Linked DNA regions of Homo sapiens: regions 2, 3, 4 and 5 are each linked to region 1. Evidence: promoter capture Hi-C in 16 types of primary human blood cells and fetal thymus (Javierre and others, 2016). All regions are on one chromosome and are shown on one strand. Each heading gives the region's core, a stretch centred on a gene start or on the middle of the fragment in contact. The rest is flanking DNA. Distances are from core to core; before and after follow the strand shown. Region 1 overlaps LOC105375508 (a long non-coding RNA gene). Region 2 holds the start of ZC3HC1 (zinc finger C3HC-type containing 1). Region 3 holds the start of TMEM209 (transmembrane protein 209). Region 4 holds the start of CPA2 (carboxypeptidase A2). Region 5 holds the start of CPA4 (carboxypeptidase A4).

Region 1 (2,677 bases), core at 72-2,571:
TTTGTGATTTTAATCATGCTGCTTGGATTGAAATATTTTTTACTGGTTCCTCTGAATTGACAGTGAACCTGTCTATTATAAATGACATACTGTTTTGTTATTTGTTTTGACTTCAATTTATCCACCAAAAGCTTCATTTGTGTATCATCAAAAAAGTTGTATGTTTCAACTGAAAGAAAAAAAGAGAGAAAGATTGAAATAAAAATGTATAAAGAATCACTGATCTGTGGGACAATTTGAAGTGATCTAATATATATAATTCAAGTCCCGGAAGAATAGGAGAGAGAGAATGGAGAAGAAAAAATACTTTAAAAAATAATGACCAACATCTTCCCAATTTGAAGGTGAACAAACCCAAAGCACCACTAAGCTAAGGAAACCCTGAGCAAGATGAACAAAAAGAAAACTATGCTGAGGCACATACATAAATGTCAAACTGCAGAGAACCAAAAATAAAGAGAAAATCTCAAAAGCGGCTGGGGGAAGGGGGAAGGCAGAGAGGGATATATCACAGTACATACAACAATAAGAACTATGGCTGACATCTTACTAGAAACAATGGAAGCAGGCTGGGCACAGTGGCTCATGTCTGTAATCCCAATACTTGGGGAGGCTGAGGTGGGTGAATCACTTGAGGTCAGGAGTTCAAGATCAGTCTGGCCAACATGGCAAAAACCCGTCTCTACTAAAAATAAAAAAATTAGCTGGCCACGGTGGCATGTGCCTGTAATCCCAGCTACTCAGGAGGCTGAGGCATGAGAATGGCTTGAACCTGGGAGGTGGAGGTTGCAGTGAGCCAAGATCGTGCCACTGCTCTCCAGCCTGGGTGACAGAGCTGGAAAAAAAAACAAGAAAGCTGGGCATGGTGGCTCATGCTTGTAATCCCAGCACTTTGGGAGGCCAAGGCGGGCAGATCACGAGGGCAGGAGATCGCGACCATCCTGGCTAACATGGTGAAACCCCGTCTCTACTACAAAATACAAAAAATTAGCCAGGCGTGGTGGCGGGCACCTATAGTCCCAGCTACTCGGGAGGCTGAGGCAGGAGAATGGCATGAACCTGGGAGGCAGAGCTTGCAGTGAGCTGAGATTGTGCCACTGCACTCCAGCCCGGGGGACGGAGCGAGACTCTGTCTCAAAAAAAAAAAAAAAAGAAAAGAAAAGAAAGAAACAATGGAAGCCAAAAAGCAATGGGAAATCTTTAAAATGCTGAAGAAAAAAAAAGTCAACTAGAATTTTAGAAAACATATCCCTTCAAGAAGAAAATAAAAATAAAAATATTTACAAATAAGTAAAATCTGATAGAATTTGTTGCCAGTAGACCTGCACTACAAGAAATGTAAAAGGAAGTACTTCAGGATAAAGGAAATGCAATACCAATTAGTAACAGATCTATAGGAAGAAATTAAGAGTACCAAAAACAGTAAACACATTGTTTAAAATTTACTTGTTTACTTAACTTCTTTAAAGGAAAACTGACTAAAATAAAAATAAGAATACATTGTGTGGTTTACAAGATATGGAAAGTTTACATACAGATATGTTGTACTTAACAATAGCAAAAAAATAAAAACAGGATGGAGGTTATTAGAAATATAACATTATGGGCCGGGCGCAGTGGCTCACACCTGTAATCCCAGCACTTTGTGGGGCCGAGGCAGATCACAAGGTCAGGAGTTCCAGACCAGCCTGGCCAATATGGTGAAACCCTGTCTCTACTAAAAATACAAAAATTAGCAGGGTGTGGTGGTAGACACCAGTAGTCCCAGCTACTCAGGAGGCTGAGGCAGGAGAATCACTTGAACCCAGGAGGCGGAGGTTGTAGTGAGCCAAGATTGGGCCACTGCACTCCAGCCTGGGAGACAGAGCAAGACTCTGCCTCAAAAAAAAAGAAAGAAAGAAAGAAATATAACATTATGGCTGGGCGCGGTGGCTCACACCTGTAATCCCAGCAGTTTGGGAGGCCGAGGTGGGTGGATCACCTGAGGTCAGGAGTTCAAGACCAGCCTGACCAATATGGTGAAACCCCGTCTCTACTAAAAATACAAAAATTAGCCAGGCATGGTGGCATGCGCACCTGTAGTCCTAGCTACTCGGGAGGCTGAGACGGGGGAATTGCTTGAACCCGGGAGGCGGAGGTTGCAGTAAGCCGAGATCACACCACTGCACTCCAGCCTGGACGACACAGCGAGACTTCATCTCCAGAAAAAAAAAGAAAAAAGAAAAAAAGAAATACAACATTATAATGTTCTCAAATTATAGGTTAAGAGATACTATATTAACTCACAGGAGACTATGATGAGTTGGATATCTGTACCATAACCCTAGAGTAACCACTTAAAAGGGGCATAGCTAAAAATGAGAAAGGGGGATACAGTGGAATGCTAAAAAAAACTGATTAATCTGAAATAACGCAGGAAGAAAGAACAAAGGGAAAAAGAGCAGCTGGGATAGACGAAAGAAGATAGTAAGATGATAGGCTGAAACTCAACCATGTCAATAAGAAGCTTTCTGACTAAAAGCGAAGATTGTCAGACTGGATAGAAAATAAGACTCGACTATATTCTGCCTACAAAGATGAACTTTGAATATAAAGACATAGATACACTGAAAGTAAAGAGGTGCAAAAATATGTAAATACTAATCATAAAAAAGCTAGAGTGGGCCGGGCACGGTAG
Region 2 (2,677 bases), core at 90-2,589, 770 kb after region 1:
CTGTACAGATTTCTTCCCTTCAATCTCATCCGTCTCAGCTCCAGTACCTGATTTTTCTCAGGAGAATGTGCAAACTAAATTAGATTCTCCTATTATAACCTTGGTACATCCTTGGAGCACTTGTAATCATAATTTTAAAACTATAGGAAAATTTGACATCTAACTCCACCAAGATCTACAGCTTCTTTGCTCACGACTGTCATTGCTAGTGCCTAGAGACTATCAATAGGATGCTTTCGGCCGGGCGCGGTGGCTCATGCCTGTAATCCCAACACTTTGGGAGGCCGAGGCGGGCGGATCACCTGAGGTCAGGAGTTCAAGGCTAGCCTGACCAACATGGTGAAATCCCGTCCCTACTAAAAATACAAAAAAAAAAAAAAAAAATTGCTGGGCGTGTTGGCGAATGCCTGTAATCCCAGCTGCTCGGAAGGCTGACGTAGGAGAATCGCTTGAACCCGGGAGGCAGAGGTTGCAGTGAGCCGAGATCGCGCCATTGCACTGCAGCCTGAGCAACAAGAGCGAAACTCCATCTCAAAAAAAATAAATAGGACGTTTTCAATAAATATTTGTTGGACTAAGGAAGGAGTATCAATAGTGTCAAATGCCACAGACTTCTAAATCCATCCATAACACGGTTTCCAACAAGGATTCTAAATTATTTGCTCTCCAATGAGGGTCACCATTTCCTCGCTTGTAGAAAGGTGCAACTTAGGAGGGTCGTATGAGTTAATTTATTTTTATTTTTATTTTTTTTGAGTCGGAGTTTTGCTCTTGTCGCCCAGGCTGGAGTGCAGTGGCGCAATCTCGGCTCACTGCAACCTCCGCCTCCCGGGTTCAAGCGATTCTCCTACCTCAGCCTCCCTAGTAGCTGGGATTACAGGCGCCCGCCAGCAAGTCCAGCTAATTTTTGTATTTTTGGTAGAGATGGGGTTTCACCATGTTGGCCAGGCTGGTCTCGAACTCCTGACCTCAGGCGATCCGCCCACCTCGGCCTCCCAAACCGCTGGGATTACAGGCATGAGCCACGGCGCCCGGCCGTATTAGTTAATATTACTTGAAAATTAAGTTGAGCCCCTCATCCCTGCTGAATTTGGACTGACAGCGTTCTAAAAATCTCTTATCAACCTAAATATGCTAGTTGATAAAGGAAACGATTAATCAAGATTGTCCTAAACAGTACAGCCCTCCTTAAGCTCGCTCTAAGGTTCTAAAATGATGAGAAAAGGCGTGGGCCCCGCGGTTAGACTTTCCCAGCCAGGCTGCCTCAAGAGGCGGATATTAACCTCCCAGGACGGAAGTTCCGGAGCCTTCAAACTCTCGGGGAAGCAACTCGGCAGCGGACCAAGATGGCGGCGCCCTGTGAGGGACAAGCGTTTGCCGTAGGGGTTGAAAAGAATTGGGGTGCAGTAGTTCGCTCCCCAGAAGGGACCCCCCAGAAAATCCGGCAGCTGATAGATGAGGGGATTGCCCCGGAAGAGGGAGGCGTGGACGCGTGAGTTCACGAGTTAACCCTGGGTCCGGCGTTGGAAGATTGAAGAAGGCTTGGGGAAGGGGTGGCGGGTTGGGGGAGGTTCCCCTCGGTCGGCGACTCGGGCAGTGGGGATGGCTTCTTAGAATCTGAAAGAAACTCTGGTTACTATGTTTGATCGGCTTTGATCTTCCCCTCGGGGTGTACCAGATTCCCAACCGCAGCCGAAATTTTGTCATCGGACATTATTTTTGGAAGTAAAGAGGACCGTTAACTGAATGAGTTCACTTGACTTCTCTTAATTGGGGATTCTTAACCTTTTTTTGTGCCGTGGACCCCTTTGGCTCTCTGGAGAAGCTTATTAACTCTCAGAATATTTTTAAATGCTTAAAGTAAATTACATAGGATTATAAAGGAAACCAGTTAGATTGGAATGTAGTTATCAAGATGGTAAAAGGAAAAAGTTACGCAGTAACAATGCTTTTTATTAAAGAGTCCATAATATCTAGTAGTATGTGTTGTCAACCATAATTTTGAAGTAGTGATGAGCACAAAGGTATTTGAAGACATGCAACCACCATAATGTGGGAACATTATTTCCATTGGTGACAAATTAGCAGGTACTGCTAATACTACTATGGTGTTTTTACCTTCATTCATAATTGAAGAAAATGCTAAATCTTGTCATTTAGAGAGAAATAAATGTCATTTTTACCCATCCAAGTTTATGGATGCTGTGAATTTTTTTTGGCCTAGAACCACACCCGCTTGAGGCTCTCTATGAATCTCTGAGAGTCTTAGAGTAAGTTTATTTCTTTTGAGCTATAATCGTTGATGTAATCCTATTTTTATTAAAATAATGCCTGTCGCCGGGCGCGGTGGCTCACGCCTATAATCCCAGCACTTTGAGGAGGCTGAAGCGGGCAGATCACGAGGTCAGGAGATCAAGACCATCCTGGCTAACACGGTGAAACCCCATCTCTACTAAAAATACAAAAAATTAGCCGGGCGTGGTGGCCCGCGCCTGTAGTCCCAGCTACTCGGGAGGCTGAGGCAGGAGAATTGGTTGAACCTGGGAGGCGGAGGTTGCAGTGAGCCGAGATCGCGTCACTGCACTCCAGCCTGAGTGACAGAGTGAGACTCCGTCTCTAAATAAATAAATAAATGCTTGTCTTTCAGCAATTCCCCAGGCACTGTTGAAATGCCTTC
Region 3 (2,677 bases), core at 52-2,551, 620 kb after region 1:
CCGGTATTCTAATTTTGATTGCACCTTGAGCCCTTTCACTTTGAACAATTTTCCAGTTAGTTCATCTCTAAATCTAAAACTAGAGCAAAACAACATTGCTGCTAAAGCAATCTAAAAATGATAAAACTTAACAGCTCTTCAAGAGCACAGCATACCTGCCGATTTTCATTAATATACAATACCACGTGGTATTAATCTTAGGATCATTTTAGGAAAAACTTTGGCCATTGGACATACATGATGTAATCCACTAGCTTACTGTGGCATGGCTTAATGTTTTTATTAGGAGGCACACTTCAGAACAAGTCCCCAGGCCCTGGGTTTCTGGCTGTGGACTCTAACGCGTCATCTCCTCCAGGAAGCTCGCGAGAGCTGGGGCTGGGCTGGATGCGCCTCCTTGGGGAGCACTGCATCCACCTCACCTGCCACCGAAATGCATCTGTGGGCCTCCGCTGGGGTTGAGCTCCTCTGGGTAATAACCAGGAAGGTCTTATTTTCTATATCCGTGCGCCTGGCTCAGCGGCACACTTGTAGGTATTTGTGCTAAATAAAACAAAGCTCAACCTTTTCCTCAGGATGAGCAGCTCTTCCAAAAAATACATACGAAAATGTGTTATTATTTTTAACCTCAAAACCACTAGCAACTTCAATAAAACAAATTTTGGGTGTGCTTGTTATTGCTGCACCCTATTAAACAGATTAAGAATTTAGGCCGGGCGCGGTGGGCCACGCCTGTAATCCCAAAAGGCGGTGGGAGGCCAGCAGGCGTTTGGGAGGCTGAGGCGGGCGGATCCCTTGAGGTTAGGAAATCGAGACCAGACTGGCCAACATGGCGAAACCCTGTCTCTACCAAAAAAAAAATTACATGGGGTCAGGACTCTTGACATAGATACTTTAACACAGGGGAAAGAAATGCTTTGTCACTGATGGTGTCTGGCCACTTTATCACGCCACTCTATCCTACGGTGAGCCGCCCTACTTAATCAGTTTACACATGTGAGTCCATAAATGCCCTAGGGAAGCTAAAATTATATTAATAGATACAAAATTCAGCTTGTTACAATTATTACTTTTTACTGCGGGTTCAGAGCCTGGTCTGAATTTTGCTGCTTAGCTTTCTCCCGCAGCTGAGTGGGAGCCGCAAAACCGAGACCTGTTTCCCTGGTAACGCTCCGAGCGCCTGGGCCTGCGACCCCTCCCTTTCTCGCGAGAAGAGACTACCTAGTTCTTCCGGTAACTTTAGAGCCGCTTGCCGGTGGCCTCCCGCTTGAGCTTGGCTTTGCGCATGCCCAGAGAGAGTGGCGCGAGCCTGCGTTTTCCGGCCAGAGGACATGGTGCGTTTTCGGGGTCGTGTTTGTGCTTCCTGTCTTGGAATCTACGCGGGTTGTGGGAGTTCCGCGCCTGCTGATCTGTCCTGGGTTCAGCCAAGGGGGATGTGGCTAGGCGTTCCGCCTCTCTAGGGGAAGGGAAGAAAGAAGCAATAGGGTTGCTGAAGTTCGTGCCCAGGAGCCGGGGAGGGAAGCTCTGGACTGGGAAATTGGGACGCGGGGGCTGAGTGGCGCGAAAGCTATTGCTCTGTCCTCTGTGGGATACGACTGCTTGTCGCTGGAACAAGTTTTGCACGGTCTGTAAGAGTTGAGCCTAGCTGAAGAAAGGAGGAATTATAAATCCCAAATGTGGACCAAAACAATGCACGTTTTCCCCTCTCTCCCTCTTACTCCGCTCACCACCCCATCATAAGTACGTGCCCTTCTAAAACTTGGATCCTTGTCCTTTATCCACACACAAAAGGGAGAGCCCTGGAGTACAGCTGTCCAAGTGCAGAGTTGTTGAGATAGTAATGGCGTCTGCATGAGGATGTACAACAGTCTTTATGACTTACAGCAGATATGGAATATAGTCTCCCAAAACTTGACATTTTGAGTTTCTGAAGTTAGCCTTTTGCCTAGTCCGTGTAACATACCCCAAAGACAAAATACAAAGTATTTCTAGACATAACCCTTAAATTACAAAATAAGACATTTTTATGTATTGGAAGTATTAAATTGTTCTTAAATAACCAGCCACGGCTGGGCGCGGTGGCTCACGCCTGTAATCCCAACACTTTGGGAGGCCGAGGCGGGTGGATCACAAGGTCAGGAGTTCGAGACCAGCCTGGCCAAAATGTTGAAATCCCGTCTCTACTAAAAATACAAAAATCAGTCGGACGCGGTGGCGGGCGTCTGTAATCCCAGCTACTCGGGAGTCTGAGGCAGGAGAATCGCTTGAACCCGGGAGGCGGAGGTTGCAGTGAGTCGAGATCGCGCCACTGCATTCTAGCCTGGGAGACAGCAAGACTCCGTCTCAAAACAAATAAATAGATAAATAACCAGCCACTTCTCTGTTGATTACACTGTGATGCCAATTAAGTTACATATAATTTTGGGTTCCCTTTTCATATACTGATATTAAAATGGAAGAAGTTTTGATAAAACATTTTAAAGATGAGAGAAGGTATATGCGGTTTCAGTTACCTTTATAAGGGATGCAAAATTTGGTTTTTAAATGGAGCAATAGTTTCTTCTGGTTAATTCCTGTGCTTTTTGTTTTTTCATAGATGCAGGGGGAGGCACACCCTAGTGCTTCCCTTATTGACAGAACCATCAAGATGAGAAAAGAAACAGAGGCTAGGAAAGTG
Region 4 (2,677 bases), core at 134-2,633, 550 kb after region 1:
CAAGCACATCTCTTTAGGAAGAGTTCCCTTGGTGACAGAGTTTCCCCTTCTAGCCTTTCTCCACGTAGGCAGACTTCCTAAGTCACTGCCCCAACTGTTTGTGCAGTGGGGAAGGAATCAATACAATGAGCCATGTACAGGGACCAGAATATGGGTCTTCTGAAACCAAGCTCCATGCAATTTCCTACGAACTCCAGTGGAATACAGAAGTGATGGAATGTGAGCTCTTCGAGGCTCACCTGCCACAAATGGTCTGAAAATTCTTCCATTTAAGTCTCATTATTTTCGGTTAATGCATGGACTCCCAGGAGTCCTCCTTTAAAATGGGAAGGCACTGAGAAAAGTAATACAACAGGGTCATATTTCCTGGTGTGTGTTCTAAAGAATAGTAGTTCTTTGAGTTACTCAGTGAAAGAAAGAAAGAAAGAAAGAAAGAAAGAAAGAAAGAAAGAAAGAAAGAAAGAAAGAAAGAGAAAGAAAGAAAGAAAGAGAAAGAGAAAGAAAGAAAGGGCAAGCTGGGAGCAGTAGGTAGTTTATGATTAAAAAAAAGAGTACATGCTGCAACCTAGATCCCCTCTTATAGATTTATAATGCACACTGATTTAGCCAAGGCTCCTAGAAATCCTATAGTTTGTTTAATCCTCTGATTCCCACATTTATTTGACCAGTGGCTTTTTGGGACCAAACTTATTTGATTGCTTTCTTAGCTCCCTGGACCACTCTTCAAAAAATGCTGCCTGAAACCCTTCATAGAATCATGAAGCAAAGTACTTTGGAGCAAAGATGAGTCCTCCAAAGCCAGGAGAGGAGGAGTTGAGCTGAAATCTATAGCCCTGGCCTTTCTACTTCATGAGGTTCCACCACCTAGGTGCTGAATCTAAAGATCGGGGGTTAGGGCACAAGGGCTAACGTGGATGGTAAAGCCCAGAAGAGCAGGAGGAGGTGGGAGAGTAGCATTGACACCCGCTGAGTTGCCTGGAACAAATGGCCACACAGCTGTATTTTCCCTGATGTCTATCATCCCTACAGTCTGATCACTGGAGGGAAAAATGAGTAAGGACAGAGAGAAATAGGGTTATGTGTGTTCAGTTTTCACTTTTGTCTTTTCCTTTAAATGTCATTCACCTCCTTTTTGATCATCCACTCCTTTTTTTCACACTATTGACTTATCCCCAAATCTAAGAGAACTTCTCTGAAAACACTGAACACTTATACCCATTTACTCTGTAACAATCAAAGCCTCCATCAATCAGGTAAGTAAAATTCAAAGAAGCACCAGAAAGCATAACTTACCCCACAAATGTTTCTAGACAGTAGATATGCCCAAAAAGGGCACCAAAAAACAGGATCAACCTCATGGCCATGGGTTTTCCTGGAGTCCAGAATTCAGAGTCCTTCCTGAACTTTATTTGTAGGGATGGCAGCTGAGGGTGATCTGCTGGCCTTCTGAGAACTCACGTGAATTCCCACATGGGAAAATTCCCACCTGCATGTGAAATTCTCAAGGTTGTAGACATCCACCTGTGTGATATCACCAATGTGTACATGTTCCATTCCTAGGATAAGATAACAAACTTTGATGGAAAGAGAACAAAATTGCTAGAGCATACCAAGGGCAATATAGTTATGATTGAGACCATAAAACGCCACTAGCTACCCTGTGATAGAAGCCAGATTAATAGACCTAGAGGTTAAAGTCTTTTCTGGGTCTCTGACACACACACAAAAAAAAGGCCAGAGCATTTATAGTAATTACTCAGGCATCCTGTCTATCACATTCCATTAGTTTGCTCATTTGTTTATTTTTATAATGTTTACCTTGAAACACTGCAGTCACTCAGTCCACATCTGCTGAGTGTCCCTGTAGATGTGGCCCATTCCAATCCTCACTCTACATTAAAACAAAACAGAAGGCCTTTTAATATTCAATTTTGCACTTTCTCGAAAGTGATCCATCTGCATTTGCACCAAATTGATATCCCTCTTTCTGTGCTTTTTCCCAAAATGAAAATGTCTTTCTGATGACATTTCCTATAACAAGCAACAATGAAGTTGCTTGTTATAAAAAGTGTGAATTAAAAGAAAGTGTTTTCTTTAACCATCAATAATTCTTCCATCCAAAGAAAACCATTTGGCATATGTCTTTCCAAATTTCTTTCTCTGCTTTCGAGTTTTTTTCTTAAACAAAGATTAGACCATATCACGTATACTGTTCTTTAAACAAAGGTGATCTTTTCTTGTTCATAAACATAGATCTACATTAATCTGACTTTGTTCTTCATTGCTTAAGAAGAAAATATAACTGCTTATTTTTAGAAACCATAGTTTATTTAATTTTAGTTGTTCATACACGTTATATTAAGCCTAGAAAGCCTCAACCACAACAAGCAGCAAGGAAATTTTCGTCTGTCCTTTGTGTGTCAAATTTATCAGCACACACTTTAAATCTCTGGGTTTGCATTCTCAAATATCTGCTTTAAGGGGAAAGGTATATACACAGTGTTTCTGATTTTAAGAATGACTGGATTAACTTGGTTTTTCATTCTCCTGGGAGTCAGAGAGAAGACAGAAACCAAAAGGCAGAGGCCATAATTCATCCTCATGTCTCCAGCACCTATCAAATAAACAGTAGTTCAATAAACTGGAAGTATGTACTTGGAGAATCAATAAAAGCTTC
Region 5 (2,677 bases), core at 1-2,500, 530 kb after region 1:
AGACACAGGTGTGAACAGAAGTCATCATCATAAAACTTAGTCAATCTCATATAAGTAATTACCTCAAAAAACAACCCCAAAGTCTCATTAGCCAGATAGTAAAATAGAAAGAAAACTAAGAGACAGATCCAAGAGATATAGGATTTTATTTGGAGATGAACTTGTGTTATAGCAAAAGGGTACGAGTTTTACGTTCAGAGTTCCAGCTCCCCTGCTTCCCAGCTAAGTGGCCTTGAGCGCGTTCCTTAACATTCTAAGGCTGATTTTTTTCATGTTTAAGTGGAAGAAAATAACACCCCTGCCTGGCAAAGTTGTTGTGTGATCAAAAAGATAATGTACATGAAAGCTCTTTGCAAATGGTAAAGTATTATGCAGTAATGAGTTATTATAATTCAGTCTTCTAACAGGGCACCATGGTATCCCTTTTATCTCTCCTACCACCCAAATGTCCTCTCCCCTGCAAACCTCAAAGTATTCTGCATGGAGCGTGTTGAGCACGTGTGTGTGTGCACACACACACGCGCACACACACACGGTGTTCAGGCATGTGTCTCTGCATGTCATTTTCATAGCTGTGTCTAGGCAAGACCTGTGAAATCTCCACGTCCCAGAAGCCAGTAAGAAAGCACCAGCTCAGAAGAGGGTGTAGCTCAGGGGTAGAGCATTAAACTGCAGATCAAGAGAAGGCACCAGCTCTGCAAAGCCTTCGCCATTAACAAAGAAGTGAAACCAACAAGCTTGAGACCCAGGGTTTCCCTTTATGCATGGCGGAAATTGGAAACAAACCATTTCTGGTAACCAGTAACTCTTAGTAATTAATAACGTAGCTCTTAGTAACCAGTAACTCTTAGTAATTAATAAGGTAGGAGTAAGAAAGTAGATGCCTGGAACTGACCTTATAAGTAAGAACTAGGCAGAAAAAGAACTGGCAGGAGATGAGGGAGCTGGGGAGAGACTGCAATGATCATCTAGTCCTGATTTCACAGATGAAATGGGGTCTCAGAGAAGAGAGTGGACTTGTCCAGGATGACACAGGGGCAAAGCTGGAACAAGAGCCCAGGTCTTCTTCCTCCATGTGAGCTATTATCAGCCATTCATTTTCAGTTCCATTTGGCTCCCATATTTCTGAAATAACCAAATAATAAGTCCAAAAGGAACTTACCCAAAAAATTTTTCTTGGCCACAGATGCTGGACCCAATAAGGGCCCCAATGAACAGTATCCACCTCATGTCCCCGGGGAGTCAGTCATACAGTGGCTGAGTCAAGCTGTATTTATAAAGAGTCTGAGAGTGACTCAAGTCCTCAAAAATGCTAATGTGATTCCCAAGCACCCTTGCAACTCTGACTGTGACAGGCAGGCCCTACCAATGCCTCTCCCATTCCTTTCAAGTGATAAAGGTTGAGCATCTCAATTTACAAGGTCAGGAACTTGCTCCAGGAGCTGAAAAAGTCTGTGCCAAGGGTACCATATTGCTCATCACTTGGCATTTAAATAGTGTTTTTTCAGTGAATAAGCTAATTCCACAGTGTTGGATGGAATTTATCCTGATAGGAGAGGTCAGATTATAAACCTGGCATAGAATTACCTCTAGAATAATAATAAAAAAGTTAAGACTATCAAAGCAAGACTGAGCTGGCTCCAAGACCACATGCTTGACAAGCCCTGCCAGAGAATTTCACCAGGGCAGGTCAGGATGAGGAAAGAGGTTTGGGGCCTCTTTTATGTATCTGAAGCCTAATTCTTCTGACTCCACTAAGGAAATAGAAATGTATCAGGCAAATGATATAGAAAGGATGTTTTAGTCTGAATAAATTATCAGTGTTCCTTGGGGTCTGATCTATGGGGAAGGCTTAATGGTTTTATCAATAATAAGATTTTCAGCCGGGCGAGGTGGCTCATGCCTGTAATCCTAGCACTTTGGGAGGCCGAGGTGGGCGGATCACGAGGTCAGGAGATTGAGACCATCCTGGCTATCACAGTGAAACCTCGTCTCTACTAAAAATACAAAAAATTAGCCGGGCGTGGTGGCGGACGCCTGTAGTCCCAGCTACTCAGGAGAATGGCGTGAACCTGGGAGGCGGAGCTTGCAGTGAGCCGAGATCGCACCACTGCACTCCAGCCTGGGCGACAGAGTGAGACTCCATCTCAAATAAATAAATAAATAAATAATAAGATTTTCTTATACTTCCTAGACTGTGGGTCTGGTGTCCTTTCCGCCAAGTCACAGCTGAATAAATGGAAGACACTCATATCTCCATAACGCCTTCAGGGGCTCTGGGACCTTTGAGTCTGTCCTGGGAGCCCCAGTTCCCACAGCCTTTCCCATCCCACCCTCCCTACGGTCTACATGCTTTCCACACCCACTCAAAGGGAGTGGACACAACCAAGGGTCATAGTTGAGAGAGTTAAAGAAAAACTATCCTGACCTGTGTTAAAATGTAAGACCTAATTCAAGATTATTATGATTAGGACCATGGCTATTTCAGTAGGAAAGACTTACTGTGCTTAACACTGAATACGGCAAAGAAAACAGAGAGGATCAGTGGGATTACTAAGAGAAGACATCAAGGTAGGGGGATTCTTGCTAAAAGCAGGCCAAGGACTTATACATCAAAGTCCCCATCAAAGGTGGGGATGAGGAACTTGATCAGATATCAAGGTGGGAGGGATGACTT

The links. The method cuts DNA at HindIII sites, captures the fragments that hold promoters and counts their contacts. A CHiCAGO score of 5 or more calls a contact.
Region 2: the fragment with the promoter of ZC3HC1 here is called in contact with a fragment that was not itself captured in region 1 in 6 of 17 cell types (fetal thymus, M2 macrophages, megakaryocytes and 3 more); the score reaches 7.9 in fetal thymus.
Region 3: a contact is called between the fragment with the promoter of TMEM209 here and a fragment that was not itself captured in region 1, in 1 of 17 cell types (M2 macrophages). The highest score is 5.5, in M2 macrophages.
Region 4: the fragment with the promoter of CPA2 here is called in contact with a fragment that was not itself captured in region 1 in 11 of 17 cell types (M2 macrophages, endothelial precursors, M1 macrophages and 8 more); the score reaches 10.6 in M2 macrophages.
Region 5: a contact is called between the fragment with the promoter of CPA4 here and a fragment that was not itself captured in region 1, in 8 of 17 cell types (M1 macrophages, M2 macrophages, M0 macrophages and 5 more). The highest score is 8.6, in M1 macrophages.

What each region holds. Positions count from the first base shown.
Region 1 is chr7:130,819,955-130,822,631 of GRCh38, reverse strand. All of the region lies in intron 3 of LOC105375508 (a long non-coding RNA gene), which reads right to left. The region is part of intron 2 of LOC105375509 (a long non-coding RNA gene); the gene reads left to right. It also overlaps the pseudogene LOC347674. Among named protein-coding and RNA genes, the nearest start is that of MIR29A, 56 kb to the left of the region's middle. The HindIII fragment of the contact is 2,375 bases long and covers 134-2,508 here.
Region 2 is chr7:130,050,036-130,052,712 of GRCh38, reverse strand. It overlaps ZC3HC1 (zinc finger C3HC-type containing 1), which reads left to right and starts at 1,339. Exons shown (of 10, transcript NM_016478.5): 1 at 1,339-1,492. The coding sequence starts at 1,347. RefSeq lists enhancers at 1,026-1,215, 1,276-1,585, 1,213-2,005. The HindIII fragment of the contact is 10,065 bases long and covers 1-1,827 here.
Region 3 is chr7:130,204,030-130,206,706 of GRCh38, reverse strand. TMEM209 (transmembrane protein 209) reads left to right here and starts at 1,301. Exons shown (of 15, transcript NM_032842.4): 1 at 1,301-1,334; 2 at 2,597-2,677. The coding sequence starts at 1,332. It also overlaps a transcript of SSMEM1 not described here. RefSeq lists enhancers at 1,037-1,146, 1,207-1,386, 1,063-1,862 and a silencer at 2,524-2,677. The HindIII fragment of the contact is 16,046 bases long and covers 1-2,677 here.
Region 4 is chr7:130,265,569-130,268,245 of GRCh38, reverse strand. It overlaps CPA2 (carboxypeptidase A2), which reads right to left and starts at 1,383. Exons shown (of 11, transcript NM_001869.3): 1 at 1,294-1,383. The coding sequence starts at 1,364. The HindIII fragment of the contact is 5,023 bases long and covers 1-2,675 here.
Region 5 is chr7:130,291,734-130,294,410 of GRCh38, reverse strand. CPA4 (carboxypeptidase A4) reads right to left here and starts at 1,250. Exons shown (of 11, transcript NM_016352.4): 1 at 1,163-1,250. The coding sequence starts at 1,230. RefSeq lists an enhancer at 756-845. The HindIII fragment of the contact is 9,413 bases long and covers 740-2,677 here.